Linked DNA regions of Homo sapiens: regions 2 and 3 are each linked to region 1. Evidence: promoter capture Hi-C in human tissues and cell types (Jung and others, 2019). All regions are on one chromosome and are shown on one strand. Each heading gives the region's core, a stretch centred on a gene start or on the middle of the fragment in contact. The rest is flanking DNA. Distances are from core to core; before and after follow the strand shown.

Evidence for each region. Contacts are between HindIII fragments. The study calls those that stand out against the background at their distance.
Region 2: a contact is called between a fragment that was not itself captured here and the fragment with the promoter of PIP4K2A in region 1, in 1 of the 25 tissues and cell types used here (spleen).
Region 3: a contact is called between a fragment that was not itself captured here and the fragment with the promoter of PIP4K2A in region 1, in 1 of the 25 tissues and cell types used here (thymus).

The regions. Positions count from the first base shown.
Region 1 is chr10:22,711,502-22,716,579 of GRCh38, forward strand. It overlaps PIP4K2A (phosphatidylinositol-5-phosphate 4-kinase type 2 alpha), which reads right to left and starts at 3,077. Exons shown (of 10, transcript NM_005028.5): 1 at 2,682-3,077. The coding sequence starts at 2,825. RefSeq lists silencers at 1,813-1,922, 2,223-2,342, 2,513-2,592, 2,893-3,562 and enhancers at 2,723-3,331, 3,332-3,939. The HindIII fragment of the contact is 14,782 bases long and covers 1-5,078 here.
Region 2 is chr10:22,266,040-22,271,117 of GRCh38, forward strand. It overlaps the pseudogene RPL31P45. Among named protein-coding and RNA genes, the nearest start is that of TRN-GTT2-3, 39 kb to the left of the region's middle. The HindIII fragment of the contact is 5,423 bases long and covers 1-5,078 here.
Region 3 is chr10:23,057,465-23,062,542 of GRCh38, forward strand. All of the region lies in intron 2 of LOC107984215 (a long non-coding RNA gene), which reads right to left. Among named protein-coding and RNA genes, the nearest start is that of MSRB2, 36 kb to the right of the region's middle. The HindIII fragment of the contact is 7,674 bases long and covers 1-5,078 here.

The DNA of each region.
Region 1 (5,078 bases), core at 1,827-4,326:
CTGAAAAAACAGAATCTTGAGTTAGACTTGGAAATCATCCAAACAACCTCAGTTCACAGATGCAAACACTGATGCCAAAACCTGACCTTAACATGCCCAAGGTCAACAGTTAGAATTTAAGAAAAACTTAAAGCGCAGATTCAATGAGCGTTTTACCACAGTATGTGGAAGATGCTCGTATACAACACCATGCTTGTTTGTTCTTAAGACTGCTGACATATTTATTCTCACATTATACTATAAACTTTGGTGCACAGAAGGTCATATAAAACATTTATCTAATATCAGACATTGTCACCTAAAATGAAATCAAACCAGAAATACATGGCATCTAAGGGTTTTAGATTTCATGTTTATATTACACCTCCATTCTTTTTTCAAAAATAATATAGTAAAGAAAATAGACATTTTGAAAAAAAAGGCTGTGAAACAGACCTTTCTTATGTCAACTCAGAGCCCTCAAAATAAAGACAGTTGGATAAAAATATTAGAGGTGTTTTAGCAATTCTTCCCACAGTAGCTGGCACTGTATGTGCCCAATATATATCTGTTGAATGAGTAACATGCTTACATTTATATGAAATGGAAACTTCACTCCTCTGGTTGTGGATACTTAGAACTGCCAACTTCTCTTGAGAGCAAAAGAAAATAACACCAAATGTACTATTTACAAGTCATACACTATGAAACACTTAAGTAGTTTCAAAATATTTCCAATTAGCAAGAAACTCTAAAACAAATGTAGCAATTCATAAATATAAGGTAGCAACGTAAGTGGTTACAGTAAAACATACACAATTACAAGATTTTTTAAGGCAAACTGGAATTCAGACGAGTTCCCAGAAAGCACACTCTTTTTCGGCAGCATATTGTTGACACTACCTTACTAAATTAAACCCCGAGACAGAAACACTCTCCTGACCAAAACACCAGAACTCCAAAGGAGATAAAAGCACCATAAATATGAGTAAGCACTACAGTATTCATCCTTTTTTTAAATTGTAAGTTTCTATTCTAGTAATAAGGGACCCAAAAACTACTAACATAAATAATAAAAGAGCTTAACAAAATTATACATAACTCTACATTGTAAACTTATTACTTAGGAAAAATTGCATTTCATTTTCCGTAATAAAACTTGAGAGAGGAGTTTTTGGTGCAGTAATGCATGCTCTTGTAACAACTTACATTCCCAAATAGCTAAAGAAGTTGCCAGGAAGTTAAAATGAACTTCAGTGAGTCAGTCATTAAGCTGGATAAAAATAATCATTTCTCAACTTTTCCAAAAACACTCACTCCATGCAAACACGATCGATCCTGATACTGTTTTGCCCTTCCCCCTGCTCAGCTTGGGGAAGAAAAATACAAAAACGATGCTTTTAGGCATTTTAAACAACTTCACTACATTGAGGGTGTGTGTGTGTGTGTGTGTGTGTGTGTCTGTGTGTGTGTTTTCCGAAAAACCAGCATGGTTTTCTGTCATTTCCATTACGCTGAAAAGGACATACAGACATCCATCGAAATCAAAAGCAGGGAAAGCGAACTTACACTTTTCCCCAGATGCTAAGTGACTGCAGTGGCTAAGGTCATGGTCAAAATTCACAGCTCGTTTAAACTTTCCTGGCTGAGCCAACAGCTCCGATCATGTTTCCTGATCCTATCGAAGTGGATTAAAACTGCAGGAGTTTCTCGCTGTCAGATCAGCAGGAGGCTATTTCAGACCCTCGAACCGCAGTCCGCATAGCCCGCAGCGGCGCATCCTCCAATCCCCGACTGTGCGTGACGCTAACCTTTCCACGCGTTCTCCAGCCTTTCCCACACCCCCCACAGCGGGTGCGGCCAACTCGGGACCCCCTCCGCCCGCGCCCGCCGGGACCCCCGCCTGCTGTCCCCGCCCCGGCCGCCCTTCCGCAGTCGGTGACTTCTGCCTGACTCCCCAAAGTGGGGGGAGGCGACGAAGGGAGGAAGACTCCCCGCCAAGGGCTCTCCAGCCCGCACAGCGGCAGGGCGATGCGGGAGAAGCGCAGGGATGCCGCCCGACGCCAGAGCCATATTTACATCGGCTGCTGCTTTGCCAAAAAGCCGACTTGTGCCCAGTAATATTGCCTTTAAAGGAAAAAGAAAGGACCTAAGCACTAAAGCTGCTGCCCCAAATCTGCTCGCGCTCCGGTATCCTCGCCCCAGTGCCCCAGTGGGAGGCTCGCACGCGCCCAGCCCGGGACAGGTACACCTGCCCGCAAGCGGAAGACGCGGGCGCCGCGCGGCCCCCACACCGGGTAGCGGTCGCCCGGACCCGGCCCCCAGCAGCTCCCGCCGGGGCTGACAGCCGAGGCGCCGTGCCCCGCACAAACTTCCTACCTCCCAGGCTGCGGGGACCGACCTGCGGGCGGGCGGGCGGACCGGGGGCGGCACTGGCACCCACCGTGAGACTCACATGCACACGGGACCCCCGACCCGCACCGGGCCATAGATCTAAAGGGGACGCAAGTGGTGGTGCCTGGGCGGCCCAGAGGGCTGGGGGCACGCGCCGCGGGGCTGGGGGCTTCGAGGCGGGCGAGCAGCCGGAGGTCCAGGGCTGACTCCGGCTCCCCGCCCCGCAGCAGCTGCAGCCGGAGGAGGAGGGGAACGAGGAGGAAGAGGAGGAGGAGGAAGGGGACCGCGCGCCGCAGCTGAGCCCTTACCGAGTGGTTTACCCCCCACATGAGGACGCTGAGCAGCGGGTCGCTGGCCCGAAACAGCTTCACTTTCTGCGCTACGAAGTGCTTCTTCTTGGTCTTGGTCTTGCTCGCCAGGACAGAGGACCCTAGGTTGCCGGGGGTCGCCATGGCCGCCTCCTATGTCCCCTCCACCGCCGTGCTCCCGAGGCCGGGGACCCGCCCTCTCTACACCCCGGCCCGGGGAGGCAGCCGCATCCCCCCGGCGGCGGCCCCGGCGCGCCGCGCTCCGCTCCGCCCGCCGCCGCCGGCGCGCTCAGCCCCACTCGGCTCGCTCCGCCCGCTCGGCCCGGCAGACTGCGCTCGGCTCGCGCCCCGGCCCGTATCCTGCGCCCGCCGCGGATCCGCGCTCAGCCCGCGGCTGGACCCGGCGCGCGGCGAGCGGCTTCCGCGTTGGGCGCCGGCGTCATGACGCAGGGGGCGGGCGGGCAGGCGGGAGGCGGCTGCGGCGCCGCGGGCGGGGCACTGGGTGCGGGGCGCGGGGCGCGGCAGCTGGACCGTTAGGCTGCGCCTTCCCGCCCCGGCTCCGCTGCAGCCGGGCCGCCCCCTGTGCGCGGGCGACCTCCGGGCGTTCGCTCCCTGCCCGCGGAGGAGGCCGTGGGTTGCGAGCGGGAGCCTGGGGACCCCGGCTAGGCGTCCCCTGCCGCTCCCCAAGGAGGGAGAGGACAGAGTGGGCAGAGTGAGGAGGTTGGGGAGAGGAGCCCCCAGGCGTCGATCAGGCGAAGGAGGGAGGCTCATGCACTCACCCACGCCACGAGTCAGGAGACCCAGCCAGGTGTGAAATGCTGCAGGGAGACCAGGGCTTCCCAGCACCGAGGGGAAGGACCCGGGCACATTGCCGGGTCAGTCCCTGAAATGAACTTAATACTTTTGTGCGGATAACCGTCTGGCCTTTCAGACCCTCGATATGGGCCTCCTGGAGCCATTCAAGAGGGAGACTCCCACGTAATAGGCTGGGCTGTCACTGCCAACCCACTCCGTGCCCGGGGCAGGAACCTCGGACCTCATCGAGAGCCCTTGGCTTAACCAGTAGAATCATGCCCCAAAGTGCACCTTCTTCCAATCCATCACTATGGTACTTGCCATCCCTGCCTGTTTTCCAGTGCACTCACCGTCCGTGGAAATCTGTTCACCGTCTTCCTCCAGATACACCTAAATGTAGCCCTTATTATGCTGAGAATACTTGGCCTACCTCAGGAAGCTGCCATTCCAAGTATGTCTAAAACCCTGCTGCCCCCATATCGTCCTTGCAGTCGTCATCCTGTGCTATTTACTCTGACCCAGCTCACCAGTCCTCACGGAGTAGGTTCTTGGAAACTGTCACCTTAAGCAAAACAACATATAACAAAACCAAATTTGCCATAGGCTGACATATAAAAAAAGAGTTAAGTTCCTACAGCATTATTTCCGGTTACAAAAACATCACCGAACTTCAAAGTAAAAATTCAAAACACTTCTAATATTAAACATTAAAATAAATGTGAGCTATACCTCTTTTTTATTTTTATTTTTTCCCTTGAGATAGGGTCTCGCTGTGTCAACCAGGCTGGGGGTGCAGTGGTGCAATCACAGCTCACTGCAGGCTCTACTTCCCCAGACTCAGGTGATTCTCCCACTTCAGACTCCCCAGTAGTTGAGACTACAGGCGCGCACCACCAAGCCTGGATAAACTTCTTGTATTTTTGGTAGAGATGGGGTTTCACCATGCTGCCCAGGTTGGTCTCGAACTCCTGGGCTTAAGGAATCTGCCCACCTTGGCCTCCTAAAGTGCTGGGAATACAGGCACCAGCCACTGCACCTGGCCTACCTACATTTTTTAAAGATTGATAAAAACAAGATAATGGTTTGCCAAATTTCTAGTGATTAAGTGAGCGATGGTTGCTGTGGTGCTGGGTTAAGTCAAGGAATAAGTGTTTGCAAAGCAAAAGTTGCCTGTAGGACCTGCTGCTACCATGAAATTCAAAAACAATCACAAATATGGTAGCTGAGTGCACTCCTATCTCATTTATTGTCGTGCATTTTTATGATTAATGTACACTTACATATTTTTATTTTACAGTCATTTGTTTCACGGATTTATTCATTTTTCCAACTCATTTATTCCAGTTCAAGGTCACAGATAGTGGGAGCCTTATCCCAGCTGCTCAGCTTGGGCAAAAGGTGGGAACCATCCCTGGATAGGATGCCATTCTGTTGCAAGACACACACACACACACACACACACACACACACACCACACACACACACACACACCCCTACACTCACTTAAACTGGGACCATTTAGGAAGGGGGCAGTGATTCATGCCTGTAGTCCCAGCACTTTGGGAGGCATGAGGCAGGTGGACTGCTTGAGCCCAGGAGTTG
Region 2 (5,078 bases), core at 1,438-3,937, 450 kb before region 1:
GACTTGCTCCTCCTTGCCTTCTGCCATGACTGTGAGGTCTCCCCAGCCATGCCGAACTGTGAGTCCATTAAACCTCTTCCCTTTATAAATTACCTAGTCTTGGTTATGAGTTTATCAGCAGCATAACAACAGACTAATACAGGTGGGATATAGTAGACTCATTGCACAATATCTCCCCCAGCCTTCTTCTACTGTGCCTTCCTGTACTGAGAAGCTAAAAACTACCTTTCCCAGGCTCCCCTGCAGCTAGGGAATGGAGCAGAGTGGGGAGAAAGGTAGGGTACACCTGTCTATTTTGTTGATGTCAATTAGCAGAGGTAGGGTGGTGTGGAGTGATTAAATAGGTGCTTCTTTACGTCTTCTTTGTAAGATGATTTGAGTCATTATTAACTCCATTAAGTTTGTCACATTTTGGCTTTTGTCTCCTGCTATTTCAATAAAAACTGTTGCGAAATTAAGTAACCCACAATAGAGCACTTCATAGCATATATGGTTGATGAGTGGTGCCTGAAGCAAGATAAATTTCTTTGGTCTCAGAATCACAAATTACCAGGCTTCTTTCTCCAAGGGCACAGCTACTGCTGCTGGTAATGGTGGTGGTATGTGTGATTTCTCTAAATCACCTAGGCACTGAGAATTACAACTAATGGTGTTTTTTTCCCTCTTGACTCTTAAGAAGTTTTAAGGCAAATGCATGGATTTTTCCTGAAAGTATAGTCTTCTTTGTATATATTTTGTGTGATAACCTCTCTTCTGATTCTGTCTTTTCTACTCTTATTTCCCTTTTTCTTGGTTCCCTTACTTATTTTTATTTCACTTTGTTGCATATGTTTTTTTCCACATGGCAGAAACCCTTTCTGGAAATAGATAGGATTATAAGACTATGTCTGCTAAAGGAGAAAAACTATTAAGTAAAGACATCTGGCTCCTTTCCAACTTGGGCCTGGCACAATGGCTGCTGCAAAGAAGGGTGGAAAGAAGAAAGGCTGTTCTGCCATCAGCAAGGTGGTGGCCCAAGAATACACCATCAACATTCAGAAATGCATCCATGGAGTAGGCTTCAAGAAGTGTGTCCCTTGGGCATTCAAAGAGATCTGGAAATTTGCTGTGAAGGAGGTGGGAACTCCAGATGTGCGTGTTGATACCAGGCTTGACAAAGCTGTCTAGGCTGAAGGAATAAGGGTGTCCCATACCCACCCATGTGTGGTTATCCAGAAAACGTGATGAGGATGAAGATTCACCAAATAAGTTCTATACTTTGGTTACCTATGCACCTGTTACCACTTTCAAAAATCTACAGACAGGCAGGATACGGTGGTCATGCCTATAATCCTAGCACTTTGGGAGGTTGAGGCAGGCGGATCACTTGAGCTCAAGAGTTTGAGACCAGCCTGGGCAACATGGTGAAACCTTGCCTCTACAAAAAAAACACAAAAAATGCCGGGCATGGTGAAACCCCATCTCTACTAAAAATACAGAAAAATTAGCTGGGCATGGTGGCCCACGCCTTTAATCCCAGCTACTTGGGAGGCTGAGGCAATAGAGTTGCTTGAACCTGGGAGGTGGAGGTTGCAGTGAACCGAGATTGTGCCACTGCACTCCAGCCTGGGCAACAGAGTGAGACTCCATCTCAAAAAAAAAAAAAAAACCCAGGTGTGGTGGCTCACGCCTGTAATCCCAGCACTGTGGGAGGCCAAGGCGGGTGCATCACCTGAGGTCAGGAGTTCTAGACCGGCCTGGCCAACATGGTGAAACCCCATCTCTACTAAAAGTACAAAAATTAGTTGGGTGTGGTGGCATACATCTGTAATCCCAGCTACTCGGGAGGCTGAGGCAGAAGAATCGCTTTAACCCAGGAGATGGGGGTTGCAGCAAGCCAAGATCACACCACTGCACTCCAGCCTGGGTGACAGAGCAAGACTCCGTCTCAAAAAAAATAACCAAACACACACACACACACACACACACAATTAGCTGGGCATGGTGGCACACGCCTGTGGTCCCAGCTACTCTGGAGGCTAAAGTGAGAGAATTGTTTGAGATTGGGAGGTCAAGCCTGCAGTGAGCCGAGATGGCATCACTGCACTCCAGCCTGGGCGACAGAGCCATATCCTGTCTCAAGAAAAAAAAAATTATAGTCAATATGGATGAGAACTAAGCAGTGATCGTCAAATACATGAAATAAAATTATAAAACCACAAAAAGTAAAGACATCTGAGCTCCCAAATTAGAAAAACTATCACTAATGCTACATATCATAAATAAAAATTGGGGAATAGACACTTTATGGCTATAAAATAATGTTAGTAGAATATTTTAAGTTGGTCTCAAACATGAATCTCTACTTTCTTTCTCAAAAAGAACAAAAAACAAAAACAAAAAAATACAGACTTTCCTCCATATGCTTGCCATAAACTATGAACAGGATGAGTGTAAAAGATGGTCAGTATTGGCCTTAAACCATATTACTATAGTGAGAAAGACTCCACACATCACAGAATTTAACTGGACATGTTTGCACCAACACTTTAAAGAAGATAAATGCATATAGAAATGTTCCAAACACTGGTAGACAGCACTGCCAGGTGAGAAACCCACACCCAAATGACAGCAGTGATTTCTGAGATGATTTAGAGTGGGACCACAAACTAGACTGTGGAGCGATGTGTGGGCAGCAGGCAGTGGTTGCACACAGCCCTGCTCTGACTGCAGCGTCCTGGCCCCAACCAGAAGCTTCCCAGGCTGCCATATTTTTAAAACTAGATGAGATTCCTTTACAGCATTTGAAGGATTCTGCTGTTGTCAAGCCAGTTAAAAATGTGATTGGCCATCCAATTAACAAATTCAAAAGCACAGAAATGTCTGTTTTATGAAATGCAATAAGACGCAATGATTCAGCCTCATGGCTTTCTAATCAGAGCAAAATTTTTACCCCAAATAGTAATTAACCTGCTTCATCAAGTTTGTTTACTAAACACAGTTCCTCTAAAAGGTTTCTGCTTCCCATTCCACTCCCAGTTCAAGTTCATTCTCAAACGCATTTATTAGCATTGAGTCCATTCAAAAGAGTGAGCTGAAGGCCATTTAAGAGGCATTCTCTTAAAATGAGAAAATCTCAATTTTGAGTAAAGGAGAATTATTGAATAAGGGAGTAACCTGTTGGAGACTTCCCTCCTTAAAATCAGTCCTTGCTTCTCCAACGCATTCACAATAAATTCCAAAACCCGGCCGGGCATGGTGGCTCACGCCTGTAATCCCAGCAGTTTGGGAGGCTGAGGCAGGCGGATCATGAGGTCAGGAGTTCGAGACCAGCCAGTTTGAGACCAGCCTCGCCAACATGGTGAAACCGCATCTCTACTAAAACGACAAAAATTAGCCGGGCATGCCTGTAATCCCAGCTACTCGGGACGCTGAGACAGGAGAATCGTCTGAAGCCAGGAGGTGGAGGTTGCAGTGAGCTGAGATCACGCCACTGCACTCCAGCCTGGATGGCACAGCAAGACTTCATCTCGAAAATAATACTAATAAAATAAAATCCAAAACCCTTGGTGTGGCATACACGATTTTTTATTATCTGAACCCTGTTCTTCTCCCTAGCTGCATCTCTGGTCACTCCTCACTGCCCTACAAGATGGGACCATACTGAATTACATGTGGCTCCATAAATACGCCTCACACTCTTTTGCCTCCAGATATCTACACAGTAACCCCAGAACTGTAACCTACCTCCTCTGTCCACTTTTCTTGCCTAACGACTGAGGCCCATGATCTTCACCTCCACCAGGGAACCTTCTTTCACCCCTATTTTTTGGGTACCTCATTGTATCCCATACTCGGTTGTACTCCTTAAGCTGTCCTGAAGTTGTCTGTGTACTCTTCTGGCTCCAACTGTAAGTTCCTTAAAAGCAAGGATTGTGTTATGTTTATCACTACATCTCTAGCACCCAAAAGAGTCCCTGGAACACAGGAGGAGCTAGATACATATTTGTTGAATGAATGAAAGCTATTATTCTGAAGGAAACAATATACTTGCATAAATAGTTTTGCTGTATTTGGGGAAGAAAGTATTAATTTATGGACACAATTTATGTCTTATCAATATTCAGGTTTCCTAAAAAGTACCTAAAAAGTATCATGCAAGTTGGTAATCCTACTACTTGCATTTTTGTCCCACGTCAAATTTATGAAAACTTCATCATAGCTTAAATGAGAAATGTGTAAATCAAAATATTCTTTTAAAGAATAAAAATGCTTTCTAAATAGAGCTCACTATTAAGTTAAAATTTGAAACAACTCTTAGTCATAGTTCCCTGTAGAATAGGAGACTAGCCGGGTGCAGTGGCTCACAGCTGTAATCCCAGCACTTTGGGAGGCCAAGGCAGGCAGATCTCTTGAGGTCAGGAGTTCAAGACCAGCTTGGCCAACATGGTGAAACCCCATCTCTATTAAAAATACAAAAATTAGTGGAGCATGGGGGCACACTTCTGTAATTCCAGCTACTCGGGAGGCTGAGGCAGGAGAATCACTTGAACCCAGGAGGTGGAGGTTGCAGTGAGCCGAATTCACACCACTTCATTCCAGCCTGGGCGACAGAGCAAGACTCCATCTCAAAAAAAAAAAAAAAAAGCAAACTGGTTGTATTTTTATTTTCTAAAGAGTGAAGGGCTCTTTTGCAAGCTGAGAAGAAAAATATCAAGAATAAAAGCTGTCAGTCCCTTCTCTGACCTGATGTTGATAATAATGATGATGATAATAATTTGTCATTGTTAAATGTGTACTAGATACCAGGCACTTTAAATTACTGAATTACTTCATTCAGTTCTTACAACAGTACTACGATTACCTTCATTTAAAGATGAAAAAATAAGTTTTGGAGAAAAGATTCATGCACCTGTGCACACTCAGTAACTAGCAGACTCAAGATTGAAGCCCAGGCAGTCTGACATCAGAGCTTAGATCTTTACTGACTTCTGGAAAATGAAATCTCACATTAAGAAACATAAGATGCTGGCTGGTGCAGTGGCTCATGCCTGTAATCCCAACACTTTGAGCGACCAAGGTGGGAGGATTGTTTGAGA
Region 3 (5,078 bases), core at 1,581-4,080, 350 kb after region 1:
TTAACCATCACAGGGATGTCGAGACAGATTTTTGCCCCAGATCTTCTGAAAGAGTTACAGCATTCAGGTTTGGGTCATGCCCTGGTCTTTTTGGTTCTAAGGGAAGGAATCATTGGTTCCAGGTGTTGTTAGAGGTCAAAGCTTTGTCTATTGTGCACGCCTGCAATTTTTGGCCCTGTTTTACCTAAAAAGTACATGGCTTGCCATTTTCGGCCCTGCTTTACCTACAAAGTAACTTGACATTTTGTTATCAACAGACTAGGCACAATTTGGGCTGGTCCTGTGGTTACAAAGTTAGCAAGACCTGTTTGTTCAGAGTGTTCTCTGTGTCCCTGTGTCTGCAGAGATAAAGACAGGTATAGAGTGGGAACTTCTCAGATGAAGGTCTTATTACCTGTTTCAGGGGAGAAGGGTGAGAAGGAGGTGAAAGAGACCTTCCTGCTTCTGCTGTTTCCTCAAATGTCAGCGTATCGTATATGGAGCAGTGTGTTCTGAACTCCATCCACACAAACACCCAAACTCATGGACTGCTCCAAAAACTACTTGGTCACAGCTCCAAAAGTTCTGTTTAATGGCTAAAAATATACTGTTTTCAAATAGTTATAATAGAAAAGAATTCTTTTCTGATGAAATCTAAAGAAGCTACATCTATTCCAAAAAATCAATCCGTGAATACAATTTGAAAATGTCTTTCTTCCACTAAAAGCAACAAGATAAAACTAAGGTTTTACTCATGCATATAAATGAAAAGTAAAAAGCCCTTTGGTTTTCTTAATTTTCTCCATTCTCTAGATATGACAATGAGTGGCCAACAGTTTTTTCCTTTTTCCCTTTTAAAGAAAATGCTGTTTCTTTTGTTTTGTCATTTTTTTTTCTGTATTGCTTCTGAAAAGTTCCAAAACCCTGAGAATATGCCAAACAAAAGTGGAAATTTTGCTCCCAGTTTCCTAGACTTTGAAAGATGGTGTTTAAGGCTCTGATTCCTTTGTCTATGTTTGCCAACCTTTCTTCTATTCTGAATGTTCTCTGACACACCTGTCCCAGTGATTCTGTGCACCTCAGGACTGCGTTTCTGTATTAACCAGAAACTCTTGGACAACAGGTCCAATGCAACTGCGAGGCATATCCAAACCAGCCCCACCCCAGCCCATAGTGCAAAATTCCTGAGGCCACAGAGCAAGTAATAACAGACACCTGATTTGCTCTCCTCTAAGTTCAAAACCTTTTTAAAAACCGTTTGAACTCTCAAATCTTTAATTAAAAATAGAAATAAAACTTATGTTAATCTTTAAATTAAAAATAGAAGAAAAGTTGTTCTCCTGTTTGAACTGCTCTAGACGGTATCACTGAGCTTCTGGAACAGAATCCTAAGTGTGCATGCAGTTGGAGCAGAAACAGGGCAGGTATGGAAGCTTGCAGCATAGACAATGTGATCTGTAGTGTTTCCTGAGCATGTGTTGAACACAAGTGAACAGTACGCGGGGTTATGAAGACATTTTTCTTATGCTAAGTGCCAGAACAGTGAGCAAGGGAAGAAAATTCTAGCACTTATCTTTACATGTTAAACATTATGTGATGGAGGCTGTTTTTATAAAGGTTAGCCTAGTCTAGGTGGTTGACTCTGATGTAGTTTCATCCTGTATCATGTAATCTCAGATTTCTGAACAAGCTCTCCTGCAAATATGGGTGAGAGACCAATCTGAGGATTGTGTCTCATCAACCAGTGGAACTTACCCTCTCACTACACCCCCTCCCCTCTTTCATCATTTATTTGCAAAACAACTCTGAAGAACTTATCATCTGATAATCACACTAAGAATTCACTTAAAAGGGATTATAGTATCCTAGAAAATAGATTCTTCTCTCTGCTTCAAATAGTCTACTTACAGCTTATTCAGAGTTCACTTATATGAGTGACCCATTTACTTTTTATTTTTTATTTTTCCAGAAAGAATTTTTATTATCTTCCCTATTGCATAGATACCATCACTAAAGGTAGAAATAACAAGTCATAATATTCTTACAGCAACCAAAGGATTCCTAGAGCAAATGAGGGTTTCAAATCTACAGTTAATGAAACAAAGGCTTGTGCTACAATTAGGTTCAATAATACTATAATAGAGTTTTAGGGCTTGACGGATTCCTAGAGTCCATTTTGTTCAACCTTATTTTACAGCGAGGGAAAAACTGAGGCCCAGTGGAGCAAAGTGATTTGCCCCAGGTCTTTTTTATAAACTCCCGGCAATGCTGATTCAGAATACAGGTCTCAGCACTCCCAAGGAAGTTATTTTCCTACTGAAACCACCGTTGCAAAAGTTATGACAGTGAGGAAAATTTGACATAGGAAAATCATGACAGTAAAATAAATCTGACCTAACCAACTCTATCTTGCTTCTAATCTCTGAGCTGCCCTTGTTTGTTCCTGGGCATAGGCAGAACTAACTTTGGGAGGAATTTAGTTTTTAGTTTAACTTTGCAACAAAGATGATAACAGCCCCTCCCCAAACAAACCCCCTCCTTACTTGGTAACCAGACCACCTTTGTAAAACCAACAAATTAGCCACAAGATTAGAAGTTATGGCCCAGAAGTCATGCAGCCTGTGTTAAGCCATTCTTGCATTGCTATAAAGAAATACTGGAGGCTGGGTAATTTATAAAGAAAAGAGGTGTAATTGGCTCATGGTTCTGCAGGCTGTAGCAGCACAGCTCCAGCATCTGCTTCTGGTGAGGGCTCAGGAAACTTAGAATCATGGCGGAAGGTAAAAGGGGAGCAGGTATATCATATGGCAGGAGCAGGGGAGACGGGGGGGGGTAGCACCACGAACTTTCAAACAACCAGATTTTGAGTGAACTCAGAGCGAGAACTCACTTATCACCAAAGGGATCCCATTCATGAGTGATCCACCCCCATGATCCAATCACCTCCCATCAGGCCCCACCTCCAACATTGGGAATCACATTTCAACATGAGATTCAGAGGGGACAAATATCCAAACCACATCACAGCTGGAAGTCACAAGATTACAAATCTCTCCAATTATTTCTATGGATACCATTACTATTGTAATGGTAAGATTGGTGTTTGAGGTATTCTTCAGAACCTGAATTCCAATGGATCAGCGGGTGCCAACTAGCCCAGTAAACTGGCTCATCTGGTCTTGGGGTCCAAACCCAGGGGAACTGACTCAGTGCAAGGGGACAGCTTCAGCTCCTTATGATTTCATCCCCAAACCAACCCATCAGTGTTCCCCATTCCCTGGCACCCTGCCCACCAAAGTGTCTTCAAAAGACCCTGGCTTCCAAAGTTTTGGGGAGGCTGATTTCAGTAATAATAAGAGACTCTGGTCTCTTGTTCAGCTGGCTCTATGTGTATTAAATTCTTTCTCTATTGCAATTCCTCTGTCTTGATCAATTCGCTCTATCTTGGCAGTGGGCAAGATGAACCTGGCAAGCAGTTCAATTACTCCTGAGGGAGGAGTGAAGAGGACCAACCTGCTTCTCAACAGCAGAGAAAGTGTCTTCTTGTTCTGTGGCTTACACCAGAGCTTGTGCCCTCCCCACCCCACACCTCTCCTCCACTCTCCTCCAGCAGCCAGTACAGTCCTGGATCCCAAGAGTGTGTCTAACACCTCCTGGGTCGCTGTGACTGCAGGGGTTAAATGCAAGGGCCAGGATCTCATCTTAGCCCTGCAGGATCTTAGCCATGAGACCAAGCCAGGTGCCTCTCTGGGCCTTGTTTTCTCACCTATGAACTGAAAGGTTGGGTCAGGGAGGGAGGACAGGTGCTGCTCGATCCCACCCACACCTAAGATAATTGAGGCTCAGGGAGGGTGTCACCTGCTCTGTTTTTACATAACCACAGAGTGGCAAAGCACAACAGAAATCTAGAGGCAGCCCTGACTCCAAATCACTCTTTCCTCTGCACCATGCTGCTGCTGCTACAGTGATTGATAAGGTCTTCTGCAGTTAGAGACAGAAGGCATAGGAGGAAAGCTAGGAGAAAGGGAGGAGGAGGAGAGGAAGAAAAGAAAGTTCACATCTATGACTTTGCATGTGCACAGACCTTTGTACATCCCCTTACTAAGATAATTCATGATAAACCATTGTAGGAGAGAAACATATCTTTTTCCTCTACCATACTAAGTATGTGGCTGAGGTCCCTGTAACAAAACACAGATTTGCAAGAGAAAACATATAAATCTATTTAAGTTTTACATGACAAGGGAGTCTTCAAAAGGAAATGCAGACCCCATCAGAAACAGCTAAAGCTGTGTGTTTTTATGGCAGATTTGATGAAGTGTGGACACTTGTGGAAAAATGGGATCGGGCAAAAAGAGAATGATCTAATAGTAATAAACTGGGGGAAACCTAGCCAGCCTGTTCAGATTCTTCCCTGTGATGCTGTGTCTTCAGAGATAAGGATGTCCCTTTCCTCCGGGTATAGGAAGGGCAGCTGTCACATGAGGATCTTATGCCCTGCTTCAGGCAAGAAGGGGAGGGAAAGGCCAGGGGGACCTTCCTGCTTCTGCTGTTTACTCAAGTTCCTTCAGCTTAAAATATTCAGTATGCCAGCCAGGTGTGGTGGCTCACGCTTGTAATCCCAGCACTTTGGGAGGCCAAGGCGGGTGGATCACCTGAGGTCAGGAGTTCAAGACCAGCCTGGGCAACGTGGTGAAACCCCGTCTCTACTAAAATACAAAAATTACCTGGGCACGGTGGCACTTGCCTGTAATCCCAGCTACTCGGGAGGCTGAGGCAGGAAGACTCGCTTGAGCCCAGGAGGTGGAGGTTACAGTGAGCCAAGATTGCGCCATTGCACTCCAGCCTGCGCAACAGAGCAAGACTCTATCTCAGAAAAAAAAAAAAGAAAGAAAGAAAGAAAAGAAAGAAAAAATAAATATTCAGTATGCCAAGGTGCCGCTTTTTGGGGTAGGATGTCCTGAACACCGTCATTCTTATCATTTCATCACTGGCACAATTGAAGAGAAAATAACTGTTATTTCATTTTTTTTAGAGACAGAGTCTCACTGTGTCGCTCAGGCTGGAGAGCAGTGGTGCCATCATAGCTCACTGCAACT